Linked DNA regions of Homo sapiens: region 1 is linked to region 2. Evidence: promoter capture Hi-C in 16 types of primary human blood cells and fetal thymus (Javierre and others, 2016). All regions are on one chromosome and are shown on one strand. Each heading gives the region's core, a stretch centred on a gene start or on the middle of the fragment in contact. The rest is flanking DNA. Distances are from core to core; before and after follow the strand shown. Region 1 overlaps ALKBH8 (alkB homolog 8, tRNA methyltransferase). Region 2 holds the start of POGLUT3 (protein O-glucosyltransferase 3).

Region 1 (6,611 bases), core at 3,930-6,429, 940 kb after region 2:
GTTAAGCCATTTTGATCTGCTGCTTCTGAAAATCAACAGTAATAAATAAATAATAATAAATAAATTTAATTCTAAGAAAGCTATGGGATAGGCACTATTATTTTTATCCCTATTCCTAGATAAAGAAACTGGAACACAGAGCTATATAACCAACTCATCTAGGATTATACAGCTAATAATCAGTGGTTGAGCTGAGATTTGAACCTGGAACATGGACTCCTAAACACTGTATTATATTACCTCATAGCACTGAATGAGGCTCTGTGGTAACTAAGAAAAGTGTGATTTAATCCCGCCTTCAGAAAGCTCACAGTTCAGTGGAAGGGGACAGATACTAAAACAAATAATTATAATTAATGCAATGTTAGACATGTCCATTCACTTATCCCCTTCCTGTCTTAATGACGACTGACTCCTAAACCTTTTTAACCTCAGTTCCTTTCCTAGGAGCCACTTTATTTTGTCACTTGCCAGCCAGACATTGCAACTCTGTATCTCACAATACCTTAAACATTATTCTATCCTAAATATGACTCATTACCTCCTATACTGAGCAGCTCTTCCTGAACCTCCTCCTGACTTTCCAGTTTTGAAGTGGTAGCACTCATCTCTTAGTCACTCAGCCTCTAACTGGTTAACAAGTAATCTTTGATTCCTGTCTCCCTCATATCTGGGTAGTCATCGAGGCCTCTTGATTCCGCCTGAACTTTTCACTCACCCTTCCTCTTTCTCCTCTCCCCCTATTTCGCTTCTTTCTGTTGCCCCCAGCCTAGATCAGGCCAGCATTTCTAATTAACAAGCTGGATTATTATTATTATTTTTTTTACCTCTCATCTCTCTGCTATGCTGCCAGCCAGCCTGCCTGCCTCACTGGCCTTACATCCTAGTATGTACCCCCTGTGCTAGGAAGCTGGACTGCTGGCATTTTAAGAGACTTGGCATTTGTCTTCTATACTAAAGATTAGTAATTAGAATTTTGACTGTTTATGATTTCATGTGAAATAAGATAAATAAGATTTTATTTAACCCCCAAATTTGTATATTTGGTTGACTTTGAAGACTTTAAAGTCCGCAGAGAGTGGGACCGGTCTAAAAAAATTATGCCTGTGTCTTGGTGTCTTGGCCAAACATGTCCATTTTGGTTTTAGCTTCTGCTCTTTACTGCCTCACTGAATACTTTCCTTTTTATTTGATTCTATAGTGTTCTTATCCTTCAGTACATGGCACAAATCTCCTGTTTTGAGGCCTTCCCAACTTTTCCAGTTTACATACTTTTTTTTTTTTTTTGAGATGGAATTTCACTCTGTTGCCAGGCTGGAGTGTAGTAGCATGATCTTGGCTCACTGCAACCTCTGCCTCCCGGGTTCAAGCGATTCTCGTGCCTCAGCCTCCCAAGTAGTTGGGACTACAGGTGCCCACCACCACACGTGGCTAATTTTTTGTACTTTTAGTAGAGACAGAGTTTCACCATGTTGACCAGGCTGGTCTTGAACTCCTGACCTCAAGTGATCTGCCTGCCTTGGCCTCCTAAAGATTACAGGTGTGAGTCACTGCTCCCAGCCCACATCCATCTTATTTTTGTCTCTAATTTGTGTCATACCTAAAGACTGTACCATCAGCATTAAATTATATAAAGATGTGTCATAGTCTTATTGTTTAGTGTTTGTTTTCCACAACTAAGTTACAAACTTGTTGAAAGCATAAACTATGTACTTTATTATGGTTGCATGCTGCAGGGTGCTGAGACTGTGTGTATTCACTCATTTATTATTCATTTAGCCCTACCATCAAATATTTATTGAGCAACTACTATGTGCTGGCATTCCTGCTCTCTTGGGATTTATATCATGATGGAGGAGTTAAGCTAACAGATGAATCATCACAAATTATGTTACATTTTGTGAACAAAATAAAAGACTACTGTGATAAAGTGTGATAAAGCATGATATTGGGTGCTGATTTGGATGGTGTGATTATAGAGACCTCTTTGGGATTCTGTTATTTAAAAAATTGTAGATATAAAATATATGACACATACAGTTTTTAAAATAGTAAAACAAACACCTACACCTACCATGTAACTGAAGAAACACCCTTTGATGCTCCTATGTGTCACTTTCATGTTAATTTCCTTTCCTTTCACCCACAGAAATAGCCTCTCTCCTGAATTTTGTGTTTATAATTTCCTTGCTTTTTTTTTTGGCACTGCTATGTATGTATTTCTAAATAATATATGGCTTACTTTTTGATTATGACCTTTATGTAAATGGAATCATACTGTAGAGTCTGCTAATTTTTTGTGTGTTATTTCTCCCCCCACCGCTCCCCTGCCTGCTCCTTGCCTTGGTTTACGTTATAGTTGTGAAATTTGTGTATGGCACATTTTACTTAGGACCTCATAAGTAAAGAATTCATCACCTATGAGTAAAATAGCACACTTAATGGAGCTACCACATTGGAACATTTTTTAGAACCATCAGAGCTATGCTATTAGATATTCTTAGATATTTGTTCATTTTTTATTTATCTGTTCTCACTTCTCTTAGTTGGTACAAGGTAAATGAAGCATTTTTAAAAAATTGTCACAGAAATATTGATAAACTATAGAATGTATGAATAACATCATTATAATTGTTCCTTCAGGACTCTTAAGGTTGACTTTTTTACTGTCTTGTTTTTTTACAGTTTGCTATGGACAGCAACCATCAAAGTAATTACAAACTCAGTAAAACTGAGAAGAAGTTCTTAAGGAAACAGATTAAAGCCAAGCATACTTTGCTGAGACATGAAGGCATTGAGACAGTATCCTATGCCACTCAGGTGACCTAAAACTACTATTATTATTAGAATGTAAATGTACTGACATGTTAATGTATTATATTAATATTTGCTAATAATTGCCTAAGGCTGTAATTGTTCAGTCATGTGTTACATCCATATTAGAGGTACATATGATATGAACTGCTAACTTTCTATTTTGGTCCATAGCCTATAGTTTGCATTTCTATTTATTTTGTTGTTTGAACTAGAAGAGGTTGTAGTTATATATTAATAATAATACTGTGCAAGTTTCTCAGTTTCCTAAGCATACTTATATTCATTATTATATTTAATTCCCTAGAAGTCCTTATGAGATAGGTGAGAAAACTAAAGTTCTGAGAGGTTATGATATGTCTCCATTGATATAAGCTAGTAAGTAGCTAATAGAAACTTAAAGCTAGATCTTCCATATCCTACTACAGCCCTTGTTCTTCTCTTCCCAACCTTAACCTGTTTTATAAAGTATTTTGATTATGTGCTGTTAAACATTTTTATTTTATTAGACCTTATTAACAAAGTCTTTTCATTATCTGCGGACAATAATTAAATGAGATGATAAATGTGAGGATCGTGAGATTTCCTGGGTTATGAATTAGGAGAACTCAGTTTAACTCTTAGCTTTTCTGGACACGAGTAGTAGTATCCTCTGACCTCAGCTTTCTTCATTTTTAAGCAGGGCATAGTATTGCATACCTTTTTAACCCCATTAGATTGTTAGATTCCAGAGAATCTAATTGTACTTACTGGACATTAAATTACTCCATGAATATAAGGAGTTCTTATCTTTTTGGCTCATAAAGTTATAGAATAAAAGTAGAAAGTAAGCTTTAGATATCATTTAATTGAGGGGTGGACATACAATTGAGAAGGTGGAGCAGGGATTAAAACTTAGGCCTCTCAACTCTCAGACCAATACTCTTGCCTTAATGCTTACTATGCTGTCTTCTGTACAACATCATAGCTTGAGAATGAGCAGTCTGTTGAGGCACATTTGAATTTAGGAGGTAAAAGGCCCATACTTGGAGTTAAATATTAATGTCTTCAGAGAATTTAAGCCACATTCCTATAGCAAGGATGAAATAGATAATAGATTAGAATTAATATGTTTGCATACACTTTACTGTTTCAGTCAAGAGCCACTGAGGCTGTGAGACATTCAGAAGATTAAACTGACATACACTGCTCTCATCACTTTCCAAGAGTGACTTGTGTTCCTTTCCTTACAGGGTTTATGAAGAGAAGTAGCAAGAAAAAAAAAATAGGCTCCATTTCTTTGACCCCTCTGAAGCTTGTTTCTGGTTGGGTCTGCCTTTTCTTTAGGATCTCTAGAAGCTTTGATGTCCTTCATGGCTTCCAAAGTAGCATTTTATTTAGGCTTTCTTTTTTCTCCATATTCTTAAAGGAAAAGAATAAAATTGTAGATGGACCTCTAATTATATTTTATCTTTCCAGGGGAGAGCAAATATTGTTTTAATGATATTGTATTAGTCTGTTGTCATGCTGCTGATAAAGACATACCCGAGACTGGGTAATTTTTTAAAGAGAAAGAGGTTTAATGAACCCACAGTTCCACGTGGCCGGGGAGGCCTCACAATCGTGGCAGAAGGCGAAAGTCCTGGCTTACATGGCGGCAGGCAAGAAAGAATGAGAGCCAAGCGAAAGGGGAAACCCCTTATAAAACCATCAGATCTCATGAGACTTATTCACTACCACGAGAACATTATAGGGGAAATGGCCCCCATGATTCAATTATTTCCCAGTGGGTCCCTCCCACAAAATGTGGGAATTATGGGAGCTAAAATTCAAGATGAGATTTGGGTGGGGACACGCCAAACCATATCGGATGTATTATAATTTTAGGCTCCTTTGTACAAATTTATGGCATTACAGATTTTTCTAGAGCAATGATCCTCAAATTGTCAGGACCAAAGATAACTTAAAAAAAATTCACATTCTCTACTTCATACATACTCCTCCTTATTTAGAAAATTGCTTGAACAATTATAAATAAAATAATAGTTCCATTTAATTATTGCATTAATTATATTACATTTAGTTATGACATTTAATTATATGTATCTCACATTTAATGGAAAATAAGTTCCTCTCCTCTTCTACCGCACTTGTTTTTGTGTGGTTTACCTTTAGAGTTGCCCACAAAACACTCAGACGGCATCTTAGAGGACTTCTAGTATTCCTGAAGTCATACTTCATCATCTTCCATTCCTAGATGGGGTAGTGGACCCTCAACACCAATGAAACCTTTGCTCTTCCATAGATTTAGGAATATGGGAATGTTTTTGCAACTATGGCCACATATAACCAAGTTATTTTGGTATTTTAATTAATAAACCTCATTAAGTGAGGTCCAGGGCAAGCCATCTGAGACTCCATTTTACTCCATATCATATAGTATTGTATTAGTGGGCTTGTTTATTATGTATGTATATGCTTGCATGCATACAAAGTACTGGCTGTCCCATGACAAAACAGTTTTACTTTCCTTATTGTCCAATTTCATAATAATTCTTTTATATCCTTTTCAAACAAAGTTCTAGGTATTCTTATTTTGTGTAATAAACCAATACACAATGTACTATCACTGAGCTTAGTATAAATTAAGGGTTGGCAAACTACTGTCCTTAGACTAAATCAGGGTTGTGACCAAAATAATGAGTTTTACATTCTTAAAGTGTTAAAAAATAATACTAAGACTATCTGACAGAAACTTTTATGGCCTGCCAAGCCTAAAATATTTACTATCTACCTCTTCTCAGAAAAACGTCATCAACACCTGGTATAAATGAAGAAATTGATGAGAGTAGGCCATCCATGGCTTTCTTTTGTTATATTGAAATGTTTTTAGAAGTCATAGAACATAAATTAAAAATCTTTACATTGTATAGAATGGTTAAGTATAGAGACTATATGGGTGCTAGACCATGAACATCAGAATAAAAATAAGAGACTCCTCTTTCATCCCTGCAAAATTTCCTTGAATAAAGTTTAGTGCAGGACTATGCAAACAGCAGGAAGTAATCGTGAAACTTACAAAGGAAAAAGTTTTCATTGTGAACTGACTGAATTACTTAGTCTGAATTTCCTTAGAGGAAAATTTTTTCCTAATTATGTTCAATAGAAGCTATAATTGGTTTTTCTTTGAGGTAATAGTACCTTTACTTTTAATTTTTAGTAAACATTGTATAATGGTTATATTAAAAGTGCGGATCCTGGAAACGGACAGAAATAGGTTTAAACCCACCCCTAATCACCACCTTAACCTAATTTGTCAGATCTTCTTCTATGAAATTGGGCTGATATTACCCAAATAAATTCAATATGTTGTGAAGATTATGTTAATGAGGATTGAGTAGATAAAAGCTTATAGAACAGTCTTGCCAAAAAGCAAGTGTTATGTAACTGTCCTTTCTCCTCTCCACCTCTTTCATTATGTTAAATTTATATTTCTGAATAATAGTCATGTTTTAATTTGCATTTATGGTCATTTAGAAATGAATATTTTGTGAAATTGGCTATTTAAACAACACAATTTACAATATAGGAGTCCTTTTTATTCCCCAAATTTTTAGTAAATTGGTTTACATACTTTGTATGAAATTAGCAAACCAAACAACCACTACAAGGAAATGCTTTTTTTTTCTTAATTACATCTTTTTTAAAAAAAATCTTATTTTAAAACAAATGGGTTGGTATCAGTTGCTCATGTTACTTTCTTTTTGTTTGTTTGTTTGTTTTTTAAGAGCCTGGTTGTTGCCAATGGTGGTTTGGGT
Region 2 (6,334 bases), core at 1,546-4,045:
TGTCATCTCTTTCAGAAGCCTCTCTTGGTTCTCCCAAGACTAGATTAGCTGGCCTTCATATGTAGTGTATAAGTACACTGTACTATGTTGGAAAAGGCTCTCTGCCATGGCCCTTGAACTTCTCTGATCATTCTTGCTGTTCTGCCACTCCAATGTCCAGCTCTTTATCAGTCCATTTCTCTGGGCGGTGTTTGTAGCAAGCAACGTTTGAGGGATGAGATAACATCTCCCCACCTTCAAAGAGCAGGCTTAATTCTGTGTAGCCTAAAAGAGGCAAATTCCTTTAGCTCAGTGCTCCTCTCTTGTAATGCAACCCACTTCAGGCATCCATCATAGTCTGTGTGCACTGTCCCCACAGGGCTTGGGAGGCTTAGGAACAAAAAGCAAACCAACATAAAGCTCTGGCTACTGCTTTTGCAGTGAATAATAAAGTTCTTTGATACAGGAGTGTTGTATCTTTTGACAGCATCCATGAAACAGTAACAGGCCAACTTGTTAGTTTGTAAGTGGGATAAAATCCTAGACCATGCAGTTCTTGAGGCCCATATTTTAACACCTATACGCTATTTACATTGCCTCTTAGTCTTTCTTCTCCACTAAACTACAGGCACTTTGAAGTCAAAATACAATATCTAAAATATGGTGGGCATTTAATAAATATGTGTTGAATGAATGAAATTTGATTAATGATAAAGAGTCTGGTCAAAGCACTGGTTGCTCTGAAGAGATATACTCTTTGGAGACAGGTTAAGATGAGAAAGAAAACAGGTTGGTGCAGGCTTAGTATTGCTAAACGCTAGTGTGTTCAGGTACAATTATATGGCTTCCCTGACGTGTTCTCAAAAAAAAAAAAATACTGGGTGTTAACCCAAATGTTATGTAATTTATTAGGCCATGTTTTACTATAATCCAGTACCGGCTAAACCTCAGATTATTTCTCTGGAAATTGTTTTAAGTCAGATTTTGAAAGAGTGTGAGCAAAATGTGTTCCATACAATTTTTTTAAGCGATAGTTGGAACAGAGCAAAGCTTTCTATTTAAAGCAAGGAGACATCCCCACAAAATAAAATTTATCAGTGAAAGTAATACCAAGTAATGTTACACTTTAGCCCTAAAATTTACCGGCAACTGACTACCAGTTCCTGAAACCTTTCCAAAGTACAAAGAATACTGTCCATAACCACTGCTTAGCATTACTAAAATAGGTCAAGAGAAGTGTGAAAATGTGGGAAAGATTTTGCCCTGGTAAAACTTGGTCACAGCAAGAATGCTGAGTAGCACGGTTAAAGCCGTGAGGCGGACAAAGGCTTGTCCAGTGCCTGGCTCTGATGTTTTGGGCATTAAGTTCCCCCAAGAGGGTGCAGAAATCCTGTGTCCATTCTGGGGTGTGAGTTCCTTCTGGATCATTCAGCCAGAGGAGAATCTTTATTGGCTTTAAATAAATTCAGATCTATTAACAATCCATTAACAAATTTGTATCCATTAACAAATTGGATAAAATGATCAAAAAAGAGAGGCAGATAGTAACCTTGACAATCTCTTCCTGGATCCAGCGTTCATCTTCTGAGGAGTGGTGGAGGTGGCTGAGACCAACCACGCACCACCACCCCTTCTCCCACTTCGATTACAGAGGCTTTGAGGTAAAGCTCGCACAAGGGCTCAAGGCAAGGCCTGGTCTTCTGCCACCCCAGTGCCCAGCTCCTCACTCTGGGCTTGGCCCAAACTCCGTGGATGTTCTGTAAACACCTGCTGGAAGAAGAGGAGTGCGGGAGGAAGCGGGGAAAGGGATGTGTGGGGTGGGGGGATCACGGTTCTGTGAGGGAGGCTGCTAAGCAGAAAAGCAACAAAACCGGCCACAAGAGAACGGTGCTGCTGTGAACAGAGGGCTGTGAGGGAGGGCGGGGGGCGTGACCTTGGCGCTCATCTTGTAAACTCGGAGACATTCCTTGGGAAAAGATATTTCCCTAAACTACATCGATCTTGGGGCCGGACCCTTTCATCGTCCCACAACAATCACCACCGGGTCTACGTCCTTTAAAAACACCTGAGCGGCGGACCCGGTGGCTCATGCCTGTAATCCCGGCACTTTGGGAAGCCGAGGCGGGCGGATTGCTTGAAACCAGGAGTTCAAGACCACCTTGGGCAACATAGGGAGACCCCGTCTCTACAAATAGTAATAGTAATAATAATAATAATAATAATAATAATAATAATAATAATAAATTAAATTAGCCAGCGTGGTGTCGTGTGCCTACAGTCAGTCCCAGCTACTCGGGAGGCTGAGGCGGGAGGATCTCCTGAGCCCACGAGTTCCAGGCTGCAGTGAGCTGTGGTCGCGCCATTGCACTCCAGCCTAGGCGACAGAGCCAGCCCCCTTGTCTGTATAAAAACAGAGAAAGAAAAGAGAAGAAAGAAGGAAAGGAAGGAAGAAAAAGAAAGGGAAAGACCACTGGAAGTGGAGGCCAGGCGTGCCTGAAGCCTTGGCAATCAACAGCCAGCGCACACTCGCAGCCTCGGTCTCTGGGCGGGCCTCTCCACCCCTTTCCTCCACGGGGCCTATGGGGCTGCGGGGAGGAAGGGGCGCACCCATCGTCGACCCCTACAGGGCGCGCAGTGGGTGATTGCGGCACTGGCTCGCGTTCCCGCCCGAGGGAGACGAGGCGGGACAGCGGGCGGGAAAGGGAGCCTGCGCCGCAATCTTTCCCGCCCGAAAGACCCGCCCCGCGGTGGGCCCCAGTCCCCGCCCGGTCCGCGGCGCTGCCGGCCCCTCCTCGCCGCCGCGGAGCTGGACCGCAGTTGTGCCCCGCCGACCATGCGCCGCCTCCCGCGGGCCCTGCTGCTGCAGCTGCGCCTCGCCCTGCTGGTGGCCGCGGGGGCCCCGGAGGTGCTGGTCAGCGCGCCGCGGAGCCTGGTGTGGGGGCCCGGGCTGCAGGCGGCCGTCGTCCTGCCGGTCCGCTATTTCTACCTGCAGGCGGTCAACTCGGAGGGCCAGAACCTCACTCGCTCTCCCGCAGGTAGTGTCCAGCCGCCGGCCTCCCTCGTCCCGCGGCCGGGTCCCCGCGCGTCCCCGCCGCCCGGGAGTCCGCCCGCGGCCTGCGTGGCGTCCCTCCCCGGCGTGTGTCGCCCCTTTTTGGGTCTGGTCAGCTCCTCTTCCCTCCTCCCGCCCATACTCAAAGCGGGCAAAAATCACCACGAAAGTTTGTGGAATGAATGAATGAATGAACTTGAAGGGCCCTTCCGCATTTAATGTGCAGGGACTGATGTTGCGAATGGACGGCGCCCGGGCGTTACAAGGAGTGTGCCGTGAGTCACACGTTGCCTTCCATCTCGGACTTAGTTGTCTGAACTGTGAGGGATTGCAGGGAGCGCTTTCCAGTGGTGAGTCATCAAGCCGACGGATCGCGTCGGATTACATGGCTTAGGCCTGGTGGGTTTGGAGCAACGAAATCCTACGCAGAGGAAATGTCAGAGCCGTAGGAAGGAGGAGGGGTTTACGTGTTAGTTTTTTGTTTCCTTTTTAGTTCTGAGTTTTTGAAAGCAGATTACAGGAACTAGGGAAACTCAGTAGAAATCATTCGGTTTTCCCTCCACGGAGGGTGAGATGGATCTCGTCCTGAATCCCTTTCTGCCCGGTCCTCCTCCCACGTTGTCCTTCACGTCTTAACCTTTGCAACTTCTTAAAACTTGTCCTGCTGGTTTCACGCTGTTGTCAGTCAGGATTTGCTAATGTATAATTTGGGGCTCTGGCCAACTAGCACCTTGTTGTATCAGCGAAGAGACAATTAGAATAAACCAGTGCCTCTGCCCCTGCTAGTCCAGCTGGGAACATAGCTGCCAGAAGTGTGTCCCAACTTGGGAAAGGGGTAAGGGGGTCTTGACAGCTGGGCAAAGCAGAGAATTTAGGAACCAAACATAATTCACTTTTAGATTTAATGATTTTTAAAATTTCATTCATTCAAGAAATACTTCTTTGATGTCTACTTCTGTGTTTGGTAATTCTGCTGGGAATCTAAGGATGAAAAGACAATGCCTGACCATCAAGGAACTTACAGTCTGTTGGTCAAAGACATGCAAATAACTGATCACTGTACAAGATAATTGAAGGTATGTACAGAGTGCAGTGGCAACATTGAAGCACTGCCAGAGACTGGAGAAATCCAGGAAGATTTCAGGAGCAGAGACTTGAAGGATGAGAAGGTTTGCTGGGCAGGCATATAGAAGGACGCCATGGCATGTGCAGAAGCACAGAGGCGTAGGAGACCGTGGTGTTCGGGAAAATAAGTACTGTAATTTAATGATACTGAGCGGAAAAGCCTGGTTGATTGTAGCCTCTGGTCTTCAAGCGCCTTGAATGCCAAGCAAATGACTTTATAACTAGATAAAAGAGAGCCACTGGAGAAATTTGAGCTGAGGCAAGAATCTGCCTCTCCCTTAACTACCTCAGTGGCTTGTTTTCTACATTTGATTCAGAACACCACTCCTGAAGTTGTCTTTGGGCATTGCTTTGATAACGTGTCTACCAGTTAGACCCTAAATACTCAGACAACTGGTTTCATATGCATGATATGCATTTAGGTAAAATAATTCCGACTCTATTGACAGAAACGCATGTGTGTATATCAGGGTTTCACAAACTTTTTCTTTAAAGGGCCAGATAGTAAATAATTTAGGCTTTGTAGGTGATATCATCTCTCACATTTATTCAGCTGTGCTTTGTAGCCATGGACATATAACAAACCCGTTTATGTTACAATAAAACTTTTTATGGCCACTGAAATTTCAATTTCATATAGTTTTCCATAAGTCACAGAATATTATTATTTTGATTTTTCTCCAACCCCCCTCCTCCTTTTTTTTTTTTAAGAGACAAGGTCTTTGTCACCCAGGATGCAGTGCAGTGGTACAGTCATAGCTACTGCAGCCTCAAATTCCTGGCCTCAAGGGATCCTCTTGCCTCAGTCTCCCCAAATGCTGGGATTACAGGCATAATCCACCATGCCCATCCCCATTTTAAAAATATAAGAATCATTGTTAGCTTACAGGATTTACAAAAACAGGCACTGAGCTGGATTAGCTAGTTTGTCAATCTCTAATGTATGTTAAAGACTCTCAGTTAAAATCCAAATGATACATGACTTAAAGTTGTGTATATGTTTTATATGTACATATATTATATATACATAAATATATTTAAACAAACGAAAAAGTTTACAGACAGTTTCTATTAAATATCTTAACAGAAGGAAAGTTACATTTATGATTCTGCATGGTTTACCCCTGTGATCTGTGACTTTTCTTTTTTTACCTTTTTTAGTCTTAGAAAGACTTCTCAGCCTGGGCAACATAGCAAGATTCCATCTCTACTTAAAATAAAAATTTTAAAAATTACCTACTTGGGAGGCTGAGGCAGAAGGATCAGTTGAGCCCAGGAGCTCAAGGTTGCAGTGCATTATGATTGTGCCACTGCACTCCAGCCCGGGCAACATAGCAAGACCCTTTCTCTAAATAAATAAATAAAATGGAACTTTTTGGACAACCTTACTTTCATTCCTTTGGATTCCCTTTGTTTCCTTTCAGGCCTCTTGATTTCTGGCTTCCAGTTAAAAAGGTGCCGTATAGTTCTGAAAACTCACCCAACTAGTTTCTTACATTTCTGCCACCAACATTCACTTCCAAGTCCTGAAGTCTTTCCCTCTTCAAGAACCAACTGAATAGCTGGTTATTCATGCCTTGTAATCTCAGCACTTTGGGAGGCCAAGGCTGGTAGACTGCCTGAACTCAGAAGTTTGAGACCAGTCTGGGCAACATGGCAAAACCCATCTACCAAAAAAATCCAAAATATCAGCCAGGCGTGGTAGTGCACAGCTGTGGTCCCAGCTACTGGGGAGGCTGAGGTGGGAGGATCTCTTGAGCCTGGGAGGCTGCAGTTGCATTGAGCTGAGATTGTGCCACTGCACACACACAAAAGAACTAATTGGAAAAGAGGAAAAATCTTCTCAAGCTGTAGCCTGTTGTACACAACTTAGAAAGTTTCCCTTATTATCACTCCCATTCGACAGTGTAGAATTTCCCTGAATGCCACTATTATGCTACATATATCCAAGTACCCAGATAACAAAAATATTGTGAACTTCAGTGATCTAAAGCAGGACATCTCAAACTGGGGTTCACAAACAGAAATTATAGGGTCTTTGTCCTTGGGTGGGGGGAAGAACTGTATCTTTATTTTCAGTAAACTCCTGCTTAAATTGAACATTTCCTTCAATTATGAATGTAGGCAGTACCTGTTGATACTATTATATTCCCAGTCTCTAGCACAATGCTTGCTAGAGAT

The links. The method cuts DNA at HindIII sites, captures the fragments that hold promoters and counts their contacts. A CHiCAGO score of 5 or more calls a contact.
Region 1: a contact is called between a fragment that was not itself captured here and the fragment with the promoter of POGLUT3 in region 2, in 2 of 17 cell types (total CD4 T cells and naive CD8 T cells). The highest score is 6.1, in total CD4 T cells.

The regions. Positions count from the first base shown.
Region 1 is chr11:107,556,974-107,563,584 of GRCh38, reverse strand. ALKBH8 (alkB homolog 8, tRNA methyltransferase) reads left to right here. Exons shown (of 12, transcript NM_138775.3): 2 at 2,686-2,820; 3 at 6,582-6,611. The coding sequence starts at 2,692. Among named protein-coding and RNA genes, the nearest start is that of ALKBH8, 5.5 kb to the left of the region's middle. The HindIII fragment of the contact is 2,049 bases long and covers 4,155-6,203 here.
Region 2 is chr11:108,494,845-108,501,178 of GRCh38, reverse strand. It overlaps POGLUT3 (protein O-glucosyltransferase 3), which reads left to right and starts at 2,795. Exons shown (of 8, transcript NM_153705.5): 1 at 2,795-3,014. The coding sequence starts at 2,813. It overlaps LOC112267909 (a long non-coding RNA gene), which reads right to left and starts at 2,118. Exons shown (of 3, transcript XR_007062880.1): 1 at 1,529-2,118. RefSeq lists a silencer at 2,643-3,162. The HindIII fragment of the contact is 8,220 bases long and covers 1,032-6,334 here.